Regions from separate parts of the Homo sapiens genome. Here region 2 is linked to region 1. The links are contacts of gene promoters, found by promoter capture Hi-C in human tissues and cell types (Jung and others, 2019). All regions are on one chromosome and are shown on one strand. The core of a region is centred on a gene start or on the middle of the fragment in contact, and the rest is flanking DNA. Distances in the headings are between cores, read along the strand shown.

Region 1 (7,926 bases), core at 1,623-4,122:
TTAAGAAGAAGGAATGTGATTTTTTTCTTTAATATCAGAGAGCTTTAAAGCAAAACGTAGTTTATATATTTCAATAACAATGACGAGTGTTAAGTTTTTAATGTCCCTGCGTAGGCATTTTAATTTGCTACAGTCACTACCAATAAAAACGGCATGTAGTAAGAGTCGACTGTTTAATAGTGCAAGGTAGACGGTTTTTATTAGTAACAGGCAGCAGCGGTATGGAACATATAGATTTCAGTGGAGGAGTATAATTGCTAAGGGGAAAATACACACAGGACGGGAAGAGGCCATCTTCAAACTCCCAACACTGAGCTAAAGAGGGGGAAGGGCAGGCGGCGTTTCTGGAGATGCACCCTGGGTGAGGGGACCCTCCCCGCCACTGCACGTGTCTGGTTATATATTTAATTGATGTCAGAATCGACTGTATCCAGAGCAGACACTCCAGCTCCAAACTGAGGATGTTTGTATAATAACTGGCTGTTTTCTCTTCTGCCCCTGGCAGAGGTCCGGCGGGGGGAGGGGGGTGGGTCAAGGGAGGGGGAGGGAGGATGAGCCCCAAATGCTAATGAAACCACAGCGGGAACCGCTCTTTAGAAATGGAAATACTCCAGGCCAGTGCTCCCTGGTGATAAAAATTACACCCGATTTTTTTTTCATTTAAACTGATCTGATCGTAAAGGAACCCTAAAGGTTGCCATCTGATCTGACAGTGTTTGTGTTTGCCATCCAGCGTGTGGGCCTCTCATTTACCCCTCTTCTTGGAGGAATTCCCTCCCAGGAAGCGCAAAAATGTCGCAGACTGTCGACGGCTTGCCCAACCCGGCTGCTTTCTCTCTCTCTCTGTTTTTCAGCTCTATAGTAATTGATTAAAAATATCTGTCCTGGACTGAATTAGGATGTCCCATGTGGAGTCGCAACAAGGTTGAAACCCCCCGCTGGGTCGTTGCAGGGGGCCCAGCCTGTGGGAACGGGGTGTCTGTGGGTGGAGGGAGAGGTGGTCGTGGGTGTGTGTGCGTGTGCGTGTGTTGAGATGGCCTGAAGAGGATGTGTGCAGGATGGGGGTGTGGTTTGTAGGAAGAGTGGTGGGGGAGCAGTGTGGGCGAAGGGGTGGGTGGGATAACTGGTAGGGGGCGAGTGGCTCGGCTCGGGAGCTCCTGGCGGGAGGGGTAACGTGCCTGGACCGCGCCTACCGGGAGCCTGCCGGCTCAGGAGGAGCCATCCTCAAGCACAGCACTGCAGTTTGCAACTGGTTCCCTTGCACCTGGGGAAAGACAGCCTGATGCCGTGAGTGTTTCTCTTGCGCCCTGGACCAGACTGGCAACCCGGGCTCCGCTCCCTCCGCGCCGCTGCAGCCGCACCACAGGGAGGCCGCAACATGCCCTGCGTCCTGAGATCACTAAGGCTGCTCCGCAGGCTGCAGGGCCAGCAGGGGTGCAGGAGTCGGCTGCAGGCCTGAGCTGAGGCCCGCCCCAGGCCACTGCGCTCTCTCTTCTCCACCGCACCCACCCGAGACGGCTTCCGAGGATAGAGGCACCTGCTGGGTGGGTGCTCCCAATAGGCCAGCACAGACCTGACACTCTTCCATCCCCCTGAGCGCCCCCCATAGGTGACCCTTCGGAGTGGGCAGCCAGACGCCCTCTTCGGCCATCCCCGAGTGGAAAAGGGTTGGAGAAGCGTGATGGGGAGAGGGTTCTAGGAAGCTGGGGTCCTAGGAACCCTCGCCAACCGCCTCGCTTCTGAGCCCCGCAAGGCAACCGCCCCCCTACTCCAGCCGCGCGTCACCTGAGCTACCTGTAATGCCCACTGCACCGGCGGCGCCAACCTGAGCTCCTGCCCGTTCTCGACGTGACTGGGAGGCTTCAGGTCCTGCCAGAGGCGGTTTGTCAGGTAACAATCATCCCCCCAGTGTTTTGACAACACAAATCTGAAAGAGGAGTCAACTTAGAAAAACAAAATAAAATAAAACTCTTTAGGGGACGGCGTCTTCTTAGCTGAAGCCCTGGCGTCATTCCCAACAGTGGAAAGTCGTAACGTTCAGGGCCCCGGGGGTTGCGCTGCGGATTTGGGGGCAGAAAGCTCACCTCAGGGCCCTCCTGGCAATTCGCAACCAAGGCGCCCCGGATCCAGGTCCATGCTGGGCGGAGTGGACCGCGAGGGGTAGGCGACCAGACGCGAGGCCACGCGGGGAGCCTCGGGCCAGGAGGCAGAGCAGGTCCGGGACCGTGGAAGTGAGAGCCGCGCGCACTGCCCGGAGGAAGACCCGAGCCGCGGGCGCCACCATCCTGACCTCCCCACTTCCCTGCGACTTCCGGATTGGACACAGGGGCCGGGCCTCCTCGGGGTGCACAGCGGGGCAGGCTGTGAGTCCCCTAATTGGACCCGGCCTGGCCTGACCGCGGGCGGCCTCTGCCTAGTCCGTGAGGGTGGAGAAGGGGGTGGGGGCGGGGTAGTGGCTGGAAGGGGCGGGGGCCGGGCAGGGGCGAAGACGGTGGCCGGGGACGGTGGGAGCCGGCCGGAGCCGGGCAGGGGACGTGGCTCCGAGTGGATGGGAGTGGGAGGGGTGCGCGCCGGGGCACGCAGCGCGGCCGGGCTGGGCTGCAGGTCCGCGAGCCGCGGGCTGGGGCCGGAGCTGCTAGAGAGGCGGCTGCGCCACAAAAGCCTGCCGGTCCCTCCCGCCGCCCGCCTCCGTCGCCTCCGCCCTCCCCCGCCTCCCTCCCGTCTCTCTGCCCCTCCCCCGGCCGCGGCCCGGAGGCTGCAGCGGGCGGAGCAGGGGAGGGGCGGGCCCCCGAATATGCAGATGAGCGCGTGATGGACAGCTGCGCGTTCCAATGTCCCTCGGAAACTCGAGCGCTCCTTCCTCAACTCCTCACTCCCGACTCCAGACTCCCCCAAACCCCGACCGCCGGCCTGGCGCGCGGCTGCGCCCACCGGCTCCGCGCTGCTGCCGCCGCCACCGCCACCCCGCCGCCGCCCCGGCCCGCGGGCCGCCCAGGCTAGTACCCGGGCCGGCCTGCCTCCGCCGGCCGTCCGGGTGCCCGCCGCCGCGCCGCGCCCCGGCCGGGCGTGGATGGAGGGCGCCGCGCGCCCTGCCCGCTGCTCGGCGTGACGCGGGCCCCGCGCCCCGCGCCCACCATGTCCTACCCGCAGGGCTACCTGTACCAGGCGCCCGGCTCGCTGGCGCTCTACTCGTGCCCGGCCTACGGCGCGTCGGCTTTGGCGGCTCCGCGCAGCGAGGAGCTGGCGCGCTCGGCGTCGGGCTCGGCGTTCAGCCCCTACCCGGGCTCGGCGGCCTTCACGGCGCAGGCGGCCACCGGCTTCGGGAGCCCGCTGCAGTACTCGGCCGACGCCGCCGCCGCCGCCGCCGGCTTCCCGTCCTACATGGTAACCGGGCGCGGGCGGGACGCGGGACTCCTGGGCGCCGGGACCCAGACGGGGCTCAGGCGGAGCGGGGCTCGGGTTCGGCGGGCGGGGGCCGCCGGGAATGTGGCGCGGCTGGCGACTCAGGAGTCGCCGGCTCGGTTGGCCGCCCCGCAGGCTGAGCCGGGCCCCGGGTGGGGAGGGCAGCGCGGCAGGCGGGGACGTCCCTGAGCCCGGCCGGGACCCGCGCGCCCCCCGCGCGTCCCCTCGGCTCGCCGGCTGATTTTCTCTGAGAGCCTGGGAAGTGCGTCTCCGCCGGGGCCGGGGTCTGGCGCCGTTTGTCCCTGGTTTCCGCACCGCAGCCTGGGGAGGCGTTCGGAGCGGGCTGTGTGCTCGCCTGCATTGGCGTGGGGCGCGAGGGTCCGCGTCACTGCGGCCTCTGAGCCGACGGCCGGGCGGTTCGCATTCACTCGCGGGGCTCAGGGCGGTGGGGGTCACCGAGTTAGGCCCAGGAGCCGAGCATTCAGCTGCGGCTCCGGAGTCCGGCCCGAGGCGCCCAGGTTTCGGCCTTACTCTGTCCAGCGGACCATGCTTTCAAATATCGTGCTTGCGGGCGCGTGACCCGCTAAGGGCCGCCTGAGTCCTCCGTGGCCCGAGCGCAGCTCCTGCTCCGGCGACCTGGGGGCGGCTCGCGAGTCTCGAGGTTACTGAGCTGGGCCAGGCCCGGGCCGCGGCGAAGCACGTTACGGGCGATTGAGGCCATTACGGGGTTGTCGCGACTGCCGGCCCTCGGCGGAATTTCTGGGCAGCGACCGAGTCGCTGGGGCCTTGGCGAAGGCTGCAAATGCCTCGAATTTAAACGTTAAAGGATGAATTAAAATGCTAATTACGGCGTATTTGAAGAATTCGAAACGGTGACTGGCTTCTGAGTTGCAAATTGGATTTGCCCAGCTTTAGAGCAGTGAATAGTGAATTGGGGGCTCTGGGGTGTTTTTTTAACCATATAAGGGAGGGGAAGAGGGAGTAGGGGGAGGCAGCCGCACTCCAAGCATCTGCAGAAATTTAGATATCAAAGAGCTACCTGTGGGCCTGTGTGCGCGCACGTGCAAGGGTTTGTGTACATTGCCACGAGCGGCTCCGGAACACTTAGGGGAAGATGGGTCATTTTAGGAAAGTGAAATAGTTCAGAAATTCGAGAATAAAACTCCGGTACTTTTTGTGATCAACAGCTGGTCCCGAATCACACTGCGTTTTTCCTGCTCTTTTGCGGCGGGAAGCGCAGCCCCAGAGCCAGACTCACGGGGGGAACGGTGGCCGTGGGCGGGCGGAGGGGTGGCATCCTCTGGCTGGTTGCCCGCGGGGTCTCCGCATACTCCACTCACAGGCTCTTGTTGGTTCCAGGGCGCACCCTACGACGCGCACACCACCGGCATGACCGGCGCCATCAGCTACCACCCGTACGGCAGCGCGGCCTACCCGTACCAGCTCAACGACCCCGCGTACCGCAAGAACGCCACGCGGGACGCCACGGCCACTCTCAAGGCCTGGCTCAACGAGCACCGCAAGAACCCCTACCCCACCAAGGGCGAGAAGATCATGCTAGCCATCATCACCAAGATGACCCTCACCCAGGTCTCCACCTGGTTCGCCAACGCGCGCCGGCGCCTCAAGAAGGAGAACAAGATGACCTGGGCCCCGAGAAACAAAAGCGAAGATGAGGACGAGGACGAGGGCGACGCTACCAGAAGCAAGGACGAGAGTCCCGACAAGGCGCAGGAGGGCACGGAGACCTCGGCAGAGGACGAAGGTGAGCGGGCAGCGGCCGGCGCAAGGTCTCGGGGCGCTTTCTTCCCAGGCGGGGCGCAGAGCTAAGGCGGGGAGGACGTTGCCCGCCGGACACCCCAGGTCCGGGCCGGAGCCCCAGCCGCACCACATTGCCCTGGGGTCGCCGGGATTTGAGCGAGCGATTCCTCGGGCCCTTCCCGGGGAGGTCAGGCTCCGCCTGTCACGTGGCCGGGTGGGGGCGAGGTGAGGGGTCCCGTGGGGAGGGCCCAGTGCCGCAGGACAGGGGGCGGAGGGGGCTCCAGGTGCCTGCGCTGTCCCCTCGTGCCACCCACCGTGCCCGCGCCCCCACAGGGATCAGCCTGCACGTGGACTCGCTCACGGATCACTCGTGCTCGGCCGAGTCGGACGGGGAGAAGCTTCCGTGCCGCGCCGGGGACCCCCTGTGCGAATCGGGCTCGGAGTGCAAGGACAAGTATGACGACCTGGAGGACGACGAGGACGACGACGAGGAGGGCGAGCGGGGCCTGGCGCCGCCCAAGCCCGTGACCTCGTCGCCGCTTACCGGCTTGGAGGCGCCGCTGCTGAGCCCCCCGCCCGAGGCCGCGCCCCGCGGTGGCCGCAAGACGCCCCAGGGCAGCCGGACGTCTCCGGGCGCGCCGCCCCCCGCCAGCAAGCCCAAGCTGTGGTCGCTGGCCGAGATCGCCACGTCGGACCTCAAGCAGCCGAGCCTGGGCCCGGGCTGCGGGCCACCGGGGCTGCCCGCGGCCGCCGCGCCGGCCTCAACCGGGGCACCGCCAGGAGGCTCGCCCTACCCTGCCTCGCCGCTGCTGGGCCGCCCCCTCTACTACACGTCGCCCTTCTACGGCAACTACACAAACTACGGGAACTTGAACGCGGCGCTGCAGGGCCAGGGTCTCCTGCGGTACAACTCTGCGGCCGCGGCCCCCGGCGAGGCCCTGCACACCGCGCCAAAGGCGGCCAGCGACGCGGGCAAGGCGGGCGCGCACCCGCTCGAGTCCCACTACCGGTCCCCGGGCGGCGGCTACGAGCCCAAGAAAGGTAGGCGGCCCGCGGCCGGCGGCGCCCGGGAGGGGAGGGAGAGCCAGCCCCGGGGAGGCGGAGCGCCCGGGAGACCCGAGGGAGGGTCCGGGAAGAAGATCCAGGGGGCCACTCCTGGGACCCAGAATTAGCAGAGTGAGGGCGGAGGGCGAGATGGAAGCCAAAGAAGGTGTGGCCCTCTTTTTAGACTTGCCCTGTTATTATTTATTTTTACTTAATTTACTGTTATTTTGACTATTACTATCGTGGCTGTCTTAGTTTCGGCAAACCCAGATTGCCACGAAATTCAAATTACAGCGTGTCGCCCTAATGAGCCTGGGTGTGTTTCGGTGTCTTGTTAAGGAGTCAGAGTTGAATCCGCTTTTCTGCCGTTGGCTAGAGGCAAACAGAACGTTCCAGTTACTCTCAGAGGCGTTTTGTCTTCAAAAGATAAAATCAAATGTTTTTTCCGCTTTTTGTTGTTGTCGTTGTTCGGAAAGAAAACCGTTTTTTCCCCTGTGCTATGTTGCCTGTGTTGCTCCTAAGTCAGGCTACCCGAAAGAGGAGTTCAAGGGGGGAAGTTAAGAACTAGGGACCATCACCAAAAGTCGTCTCAGATAGCGGCCCTGGAGACAGTCGGTTTCCCAAACTGCTGTTTGCCTGGGAGTGGAGGATGGTGGGTGCACGGTGGTCTGCGCAGCCAGCAGGCTGTGGGGTCGGTTCTGACTAACTGCCCACTCCCCTGACAGATGCCAGCGAGGGCTGCACCGTGGTTGGCGGGGGCGTCCAGCCCTACCTATAGAAGGGCCGAGCACAGCAATGCAAGTAAGTGGGCACCCTGGTGCTTCCCAGACCCTGTGGAGCCTCCCAGCACCAACTTGCTTAATGTGTTTTTCTTGCTTCTGGTCATGGGGTTAGAAGACAGAGCATTTCAATCTTGTCCAGCTTTTCTTTCCTTAAGGGGGAAACTATATTTTCTGTTTTATAGATTCCCTCTTTTTGGCACAAGTTCTATCACTCCTTTACCTAGGGAAGGAAAAAAAAAATATATATATATATGTGTGTGTGTGTGTGTGTAATATATATATGTATATATATAGTACATGTATATATATAGTACATGTGTATATATATATTACACACTACTGTTGTTTTCTTTTGAAACAATAGATTATTAAAATCTGGGCATTTATATGCAATTTAGAGCCATTTTTACTATGCTAGACACATAATAGACACATGCTTTGATGAGCTTGGGCTACCAAAACTTGGAGTAGCAAAAACCTTTATAGATGATGTTTGCAAAATAAGACTGAAGAGACACGAGGCGTACTAGTCTTTTATCAGCCCTGTCCAACCTCCCCTCCACCCATGTCCAAGTGGACAGGACTCTGACATTCTCCCGGGGCTCACAACAGTATCTCAAAAAATATGTTGCTTTGCAACGAGTCAGAATTACTAATCATAGATCTTGAAGATAAGAAAGATTTGGAACCACTTCAGATCAACTCGTTTTTATAATGGTGTTGTTGTGGAACTGAAAGATTGGGGATGATTTGGTTTTTTCCTTGGTCCACAGGTAGGTGTCACAATTGCTTTGAAAAAAAAAAAAAAAAAAAAGTCAGCAGGCCATTCTCTCTTCCCAAGCTCATAAATTTACAGATACAACAAACAGATGTCTAAATCCAGACCACATCTTGTGCCACTGTAAAAGAGAAGGATCCACACAGCACTGTCAGCCCA
Region 2 (7,926 bases), core at 2,252-4,751, 38 kb before region 1:
GTAATATTAGCACTCCTCTCTTAGCAACTAATATAACAAGTGGAGAGAAAATCAGCAAGTACATAGAAGACCTAAACAACACCATCGACCAACTCAAATAAGTTGACCTTTATAGAATCTCCACCATACAATGGCAGAATTCATACCTTCTCAAGTGAACCTGGAGCCTTCTCCAATGTAAACCAAATAATAGGGCATTACATAAGTTTCAATAAGTTTAAGAGGACTGAAATTATACAGAATACATTATCTGACATGATGGCATTAAATTAGAAATAAATAATAAGAAGATATTTTTGAAATTCCTAAGTATTTGGAAATTAAGCAAAATATGTTTCGTTTTGTATTTTTGAGACAGGGTCTTGCTCTGTCCCCAGGCAAGTGGCACAATCTTGGCTTACTGAAACCTCACCCTCCTGGGTTCAAGGGATCCTCCTGCCTCAGCTTCCTGAGTAGCTGGGACTACATGTACATGCCATCACACCTGGCTAATTTTTGTATGTTTTGTAGAGACAAGATTTTGCCATGTTGCCCAGGCTGGTCTCAAACTCCTGGGCTCAAGCAATCTGCCCACCTTTGTCTCCCAAAGTGCTGGGATTATAGGAATGAACCACTGTGCCCAGCATAAAATATGTTTAAATAACCCAATGAATTGAAGATGACAGCAATATTTTAAACTGAATGAAATGAAAACTAAAAATGCAACATGTAAAACTTTGCAGGCTTCAGCTAAAGCAGTTCTTACAACAAAATGTATAGCATTACATGCTTTTTTTGAAAAATGGGAAAAGTCTAAATTCGGTAGTCTAAACCTCTACCTTAAGATACTGATAAAATGAATATCAAAGCAAACTCAAAATAAGAGGAGAAAATAATAAAGATCAGATCTGACATTAATAAAATAAAAATGGAAAAACAATAAAATCAAAAGGTCATTCTTTGAAAGGATCAACAAAATTTATATACTTTCAGTTGACTGAACAAGAAAAAGAGAAGAACAGATATAAATTGCCAGTATCAAGAGTCAATTAATACATACCACTACAGACCCTAGAGTCATAAAAAGGTTATAAGGAAGGATTATAAAGAAATAGACTTACACAAATATATTCAACTACTTAGATAAAGTGGAGAAATTTTTTAAAGATACCACACATAAGAAAAAAATAGAAAATCTGAATAGCTCTGTATCTATCTAAAAAAAAATTTTTTTAAACCTTCCTACAAAGAAAACTCCAGGCTCATATGACTTCAGTAGTAAATTCTATCCATCATTTAAGGAATAAATAATAATACACATTCTCTTTTTAGAAAATAGAGAAGTTTCCTAATTTATTTTATGAGGCCAAACTACCTTGATACCAAATTACCAAAACCAGACAAAAATATCTCAAGAAACATACAGAACAATATCTATCATTGAATATACAAATTCTTTTATAAAATATTAGCAAATTAAACCTAGCAATAAAAATAAAATATATTGTGACCAAGTGGAGCTCATCCCAAAAATTCGGGATTCATTAACATTAAAAAATTCATTAACATGATTCACCATGTTAACAAAATAAAGAAGGAAAACTACACGATTACCTGAATTTATGGAAGAAATAAAAGAAAAGCATTCATCAAAAATCAAGCTCTCAACAAAATCAGGGGAGAAACGGACATCCTCAATCCATAAAGAACATATACACTCAGTCCACAATTAACAACATTTAATGATGAAAAACAATACTTCCCTCCCTATAATCAGGAGCAAGGCAACGTCTGCTCCCACCACTTCTACTAAGCATTGTCCTGGGGCTTCTACCCAGTGCAATAAGGCAAGAAAAAGAAGCAAAAGTCATACACATTGCAAAGAAAGAAATAAAATTGCCTTTATTTGTAAATAACATAATATCTGGATGTAGGAAATTCTAAAAAATCTACGAAAGCTGCTAGAATTAATTGACTAATTTAGCAAGGTCAGATAATAAAAGGTCAATATATAATAATTATATTTCTCTATGCTAGCAATGAGCAATTGGAAAATGAATTTTTTAAAATATCCATTATCAATAGCATCGAAACCTTAACTATGTAGGAATAAATATGTGCCATATTATATGCTAAACTACAGAATATTTCTGGGAGAAATTAAATAAATCTAAATAAATGGGAAGAAATATAATATTCATTGATGGGAAGACTCAATATTGTGATATCAATTTTCCCCCAGTTAATCAATAGAGTCATTGAAATCAAAATCCCAACAGACATTTTAGTAGAAAATGACCAGATTTTTCTAAAACTTCTATGAAAATGCAGATAATCTGGAAGAGCCAGCACAGCTAGGGAAAAGCTGAAGAACTTGCACCAGCTGACTTCCACGTCTGCCCCAGTAACAAAGTCAATGTGGTATCCACTTTGAAAGACACATGCAGATCCATGGAATAAAGTTAATAGCCTACAAATCCATGTGCTCTTAAAGGTTCAGTTGATTTTCCAGTCAAGTTAATGGGGAAAAGATAATCTTTTTAACAAATAGTACTAGGACAACTGGATATCAGCTAAAGTACAAAAACAACAAAAGCAAAACAAACAAAACAGCACCTGTCAAACACATGCAAAAAAACTTGAAATGGGTCATAGTCCTAAATCTAAAATTATAAACTACAAAACTCCTGGAAGAAATAAGGAGAAAATCTTATTTTTGTGACATAGAGGCTAGCACAAATTTCCTGCATATCATGCAAAAAGCTAAACCCCATATTTTTTGAAAAAACTGATCATTTAAACTTAAATTAGAAAGCTTCTGTTCTTAGACTTTTTTTTTAAATGAAAAGGTAAGCCATATATTGGGGGAAATATTCATAATACATGTTTCAGACCAAGGTTCTGTACCCAAAATATATAAAGAACTCTTACAACTTAATAATAAGAATATATTGAAAAACCAGGTTTTTTCAAAATGTTGGCAAGTATTTCAAAATGTCATTTATAAACAAAAGATATATAAATGATCAGTAAGCACATGAGAAAAATGTTTGCCATGTTATCAGAGAAAAGCAAATTAAAATCTCAAGAAGATATAAGCACAAAACCACTAGATTAGCAAAAGTTAAAAAGCTGAAAAATAGCAAGTAGCAAGTGTTGGTATGAATGTTACACCTCACTGGTGGAAATGTCAAGTGAGACAGGCCTTTGGCAAGCAGTTTGGAAGTTTCTTACAAAGTCGAACATTCACTTAGCATATGGCATGGTGCTTGTGTGCCTAGGTATTTGCGTAAGATAAATGAAAACATAATCCAACAAACGCTTGCACATGAATGTTCATAGCAATTTTACTCAACAGCCCCACTAAATCACCACATTGAAAATTATGCCTTAATAATGATGCTTGAAAAAAAATTGTGTTTTTGAATATCATTAGAGAGAGGTTGGAAAGTAACTGAGAAAACATGATCAATTAAAAACAATGGCATTTATGAGGAAAAAATAAAATGGCAAATATAATATCTAGAAATAAATTATTTGGCAGAAAAGAAAAGTGAAACAGATCAGTACTTGTAATAAATATGAGTTCTGTTCATGTAGCAAAAGAGAGAACCTTACAAATTGGGTTAAAAAAATCCAATTCTGCACCAACAGAAGAGACGCACCAAGGCACAACTTTCATATGGAAGTTGAAAAGAATTGGATGGGAAATGGATGCCAATCAAATGCTAATAAAAAGCTAGCAACTGGAGGCATTGACAGAAAATAAATTAGAAGTCGGGGTGAAAATAACAAGGGGGATTAAATTGGTTATTTATATAATAAAGGGAATAATGCATTAAGAAGACATGTCAGTCATAAACTTTTTTGCACATAACAGCTTAAAACACACAATGTACAAAAAGTAGAAAATTCTCAGTCATTGTAAGAGACAGTAACTTAAAATTCAGAAACTAACAGATTAAATAGAAAGAAAGTAGAAAAGTTGAATACCTATATGTAATAAGCTAGGTCTAATTTGCCTTTCAATATTGAACTTGCACAATTAGAGGATTTGTTTTAAGTGTTCAACAGGGGCAGTGACTGGCTTCCAAGCCCACTCACCTGGCTGTTGACCAGCCTCACTCTCCCCACATGAGCTTGTGCACAAGGCGGCCTCACGATCTCCAGGTCGCTGGTCTCAGGGAAACCTTGGCAGCTGGTTTTCCCCAGATCAGTGATTGGAGGATAATGAGAAAGAAAGGAGACTCAAAATGGAAAGTCAGAATCTTTTAATACTTAATGTTGGAAGTGACATTCCATCATTTCTGACATGTTCTGTTCATTAGCAATTAGTGAAGTCTGCTCTCACAGCTGACATGTATATATGTATATATATGCCTTACATGTCTACAGGTGCACATACCTGCGGATGCAGGACTTACACATCTATAGGTGCACACGTATGTTTACATAGGATTTACATGTTTATAGATACACATGCGTGTATATACAGGCATACTTCAGAGATGAGGGCTGGGTTCCAGACCACTGTAATAAATCGAGTCACACAAATTTTTTGTTTTCCCAATGCATATAAAAAGCTGTATTTGGAGGTGCTGGAACCATCCGGGTGCCTCTTGCTCTGCTGCTTTAGCTCCGGAGTGTTTGGCGATGGGGCAGCAGGAGGTGGGGAGGCTCATGTCGAGGTTTAATGCATTCAAAAGGATTAATACCATACTGCACCATTTGAGAATGTCCAAGCACACAGATGCAGCAGAAGACGTGCTATTGGGGGGGGGGAAAGAAACGTGTGCAGATGTATCCATGGCTAGAGAAGTGGGAAGAAGATCCTGAAACTCTCCTGATCATTATAAAGGGAGCCGGAGGAAAGGCTTTCTGTGATGGGAGTGATATTAGAGTCATCTCGGAGGCTGAAAAGGCAAAACGGAAGATAGCGCCAGTTTTCTTCAGAGAAGAATATATGCTGAACAATGCTTTTGGTTCTTGCCAGAAACCTTATGTTGCACTTATTCATGGAATTACAATGGGTGGGAGAGTTGGTCGTCAGTCCATGGGCAGCTTCAAGTGGCTACAGAAAAGTGTCTTTTTGCCATGCCAGAAACCGCAGTAGGGCTGTTCCCTGATGTGGGTGGAGGTTATTTCTTGCCATGACTTCAAGGAAAACTTGGTTACATCCTTGCATTAACAGGATTCAGACTAAAATGAAATGATATGTACAGAGCAGGAATTGCTACACACTTTGTAGATTCTGAAAAGTTGGGCATGTTAGAGGAAGATTTGTTAGCCTTGAAATCTCCTTCAAAAGAAAATATTGCAGCTGTCTTAGAAAATTACCATATGGAGTCTAAGATTGATGAAGACAAGTCTTTTATACTTGAGGAACACATGGGCAAAATAAACAGTTGCTTTTCAGCCAATACTGTGGGACAAATTATTGAAAACTTACAGCAAGATTGTTCATCTTTTGCCCTAGAGCAATTGAAGGTAATTAATAACATGTCTCCAACATCTCTAAAGATCACACTAAGGTAACTCCTGGAGGGGTCTTGAAAGACCTTGCAAGAAGTACTAACTATGGAGTATCAGCTAAGTCAAGCTTGTATGGAGGGTCATGACTTTTATGAAGGTGTCAGAGCTGTTTTAATTAATAAAGACCAGAGTCCAAAATGGAAACCAGCTGATCTAAAAGAAGTTACTGATGAAGATTTGAATAATCACTTTAAGTCTTTGGGAAGCAATGATTTGAAATTTTGAGGTGACAGGCTTTCAGGGTATATTCTGTAGCATGGGTTGGCAATCTGCAGCACGCAGGCCAAATCCAGCCTGCTGCCTACTTTTATATGCACTACAAGCTAAGAATGGTTTCTGCATTTTTAAATGGTTGGGAAAAGAAATCAAAGACTAATATTTAATGAAGTAAAAATTATATGAAGTATCAGAGTTCACAAATAAAGCTTTATTGGAACTAGTTATAAAAAAGTTATATTAATCCTGGCCAGGTGCGGTGGCTCATGCCTGTAATCCCAGCACTTTGGGAGGCCGAGGCGGGTGGATCACGAGGTCAGGAGATCGAGACCCTACTGGCTAACACAGTGAAACCTCGTCTCAACTAAAAATACAAAAAAAATTAGCCAGGTGTGGTGGCAGGTGTCTGTAATCCCAGCTACTGAGGAGGCTGAGGCAGGAGAATGGCATGAACCTAGGAAGTGGAGCTTCATGTAAGCCGAGATTGTGCCACTGCCCTCCAGCCTGGGCAAAAAAGCAAGACTCCGTCTCAAAAAAAAAAAAGTTATATTTATCCTTTACTGTAGTCTATTAAGTGTGCAATAGCATTATGTCTAAAAAGCGGTGAGCATAACTTAATTTAAAATATTTTATTGGTAAAAAAAGCTAAGGATGATCTGAGCCCTCAAGGAGTCCTCATCTTTTTGCTGGTGGATTGTCTTGCCTCAATGTCAGTGGCAGCTGATTGATCAGAGTGGTGGTTGCTGAAAGTTGAGGTCACTGTAGCAATTTCTTAAAATAATACAAGAATTGAGTTTACCCCTTTGATTATATCTTCCTTTCATGAAAGATTTCTATGTAGTATGTAATGCCATTTGATAGCATTTTACCCACAGTAGAACTTCCTTCAAAATTGGAGTGTTTCCTCTCTGCTGCTTTATCAACTAAGTTTAGGTAATTTCTAAATCCTTTGTTATTTCAACAATGAACACACAGCATCTTCACCAGGAAGATATTGCATCTCAAGAAACCACTTTCGTTGCTCATCCATAAGAAGGAATTCCTCATGTGTTCTCTCATGAGATTGCATCAATCCAGTTCCATCTTCAGACTCCACTTCTAATTCTAGTTATCTTGCTGTTTCCACCACATCTGCAGTTACTTCCTCCACTGAAGTCTTGATGCCTTCAAAGTCATCCATGAAAGTGGTAATAAACTTCTTGCTAAGCTCCTGTTAATGCTGATATTTTGACCTCCTCCTACAAATCATGAATGTTCTTAGTGGCATCTAATATGGTGAATTGTTTCCAGAAGATTTTCAATTTATTTTGCCCAGATTCTTCAAGTGGAATCACTGTCTGTGGCAGCTAGGGCCCTACAGAATGTATTCTCAAATATTAAGACTTGAAAGTCAAAATGACTCCTTGATCCTTGGGCTGCAGAATAGGTCTGCTAATAGACATGAAAACATTCATCTCATTGTACATCTGCATCAGAGCTCTTGCATAAAAACCAGGTGAGTTGTCAATGAGCAGTAGTATTTTGGAAGAGATATTTTTTTCTGAGAAGTAGGTCTCAACAATGGGCTTAAAATATTCAGGAAACCATGCTGTAAACAGATGTGCTATCATCCAGGCTTTGTTGTTTCATCTATAAAACGTAGGCAGAGTAGATTTAGCATCATTCTTAATGGCTCTACGACTTTCAGAATGTTAAATGAGCATTGGTTTCAACTGAAAGTCACCAGCTGCACCAGCTCCTAACAAGAGAGTCAGCCTGCCCTTTGAAGCTTGGAAGCCAGGCACTGACTTCTCCTCTCAAGGTATGAAAGCCCTAGATGGCATCTTCTTCCAATAGAAGGCTGTTTCATCTACACTGAAAATCTGTTGTTTAGTGTAGTGACCTTCATGAACAATCTTAGGTAGATCTTCCAGATAACTTGCTGCAGCTTCTCCATCAGCACTTTCTGCTTCACCTTGATACTTTCATGTTATGAAGATGTCTTTTTTCCTTAAACCTCATGAAACCACCTCTGCTAGCTCCTAACTATTTTTTTTTTTTTTTGCAGTTTCCTCCCCTCTCTCAAGCTTCATAGAATTGAAGAGAGTTAAGGCCTTTCTCTGCATTGGGTTTTGGCTTAAGGGAATGTTGTGTATGGTTTGATCTTCTATCTAGAGCATTTAAACTTCCTCCCTATCAACAATATGCCTGTTTCACTCA

What was found. The method cuts DNA at HindIII sites, captures the fragments that hold promoters and counts their contacts. A contact is called where the count stands out against the background at its distance.
Region 2: a contact is called between a fragment that was not itself captured here and the fragment with the promoter of IRX2 in region 1, in 3 of the 25 tissues and cell types used here (IMR-90 fibroblasts, bladder and stomach).

Annotation. Positions count from the first base shown.
Region 1 is chr5:2,746,623-2,754,548 of GRCh38, reverse strand. IRX2 (iroquois homeobox 2) reads left to right here and starts at 2,872. Exons shown (of 4, transcript NM_033267.5): 1 at 2,872-3,384; 2 at 4,762-5,167; 3 at 5,497-6,204; 4 at 6,933-7,926. The coding sequence starts at 3,136. The coding sequence ends at 6,985. IRX2-DT (IRX2 divergent transcript) reads right to left here and starts at 2,656. Exons shown (of 4, transcript NR_122126.2): 1 at 2,085-2,656; 2 at 1,795-1,869; 3 at 1,194-1,264. RefSeq lists enhancers at 1,833-2,757, 4,843-5,787, 5,788-6,733. The HindIII fragment of the contact is 21,259 bases long and covers 1-6,885 here.
Region 2 is chr5:2,785,254-2,793,179 of GRCh38, reverse strand. It overlaps the pseudogene LOC100130748. Among named protein-coding and RNA genes, the nearest start is that of IRX2-DT, 37 kb to the right of the region's middle. The HindIII fragment of the contact is 4,512 bases long and covers 1,246-5,757 here.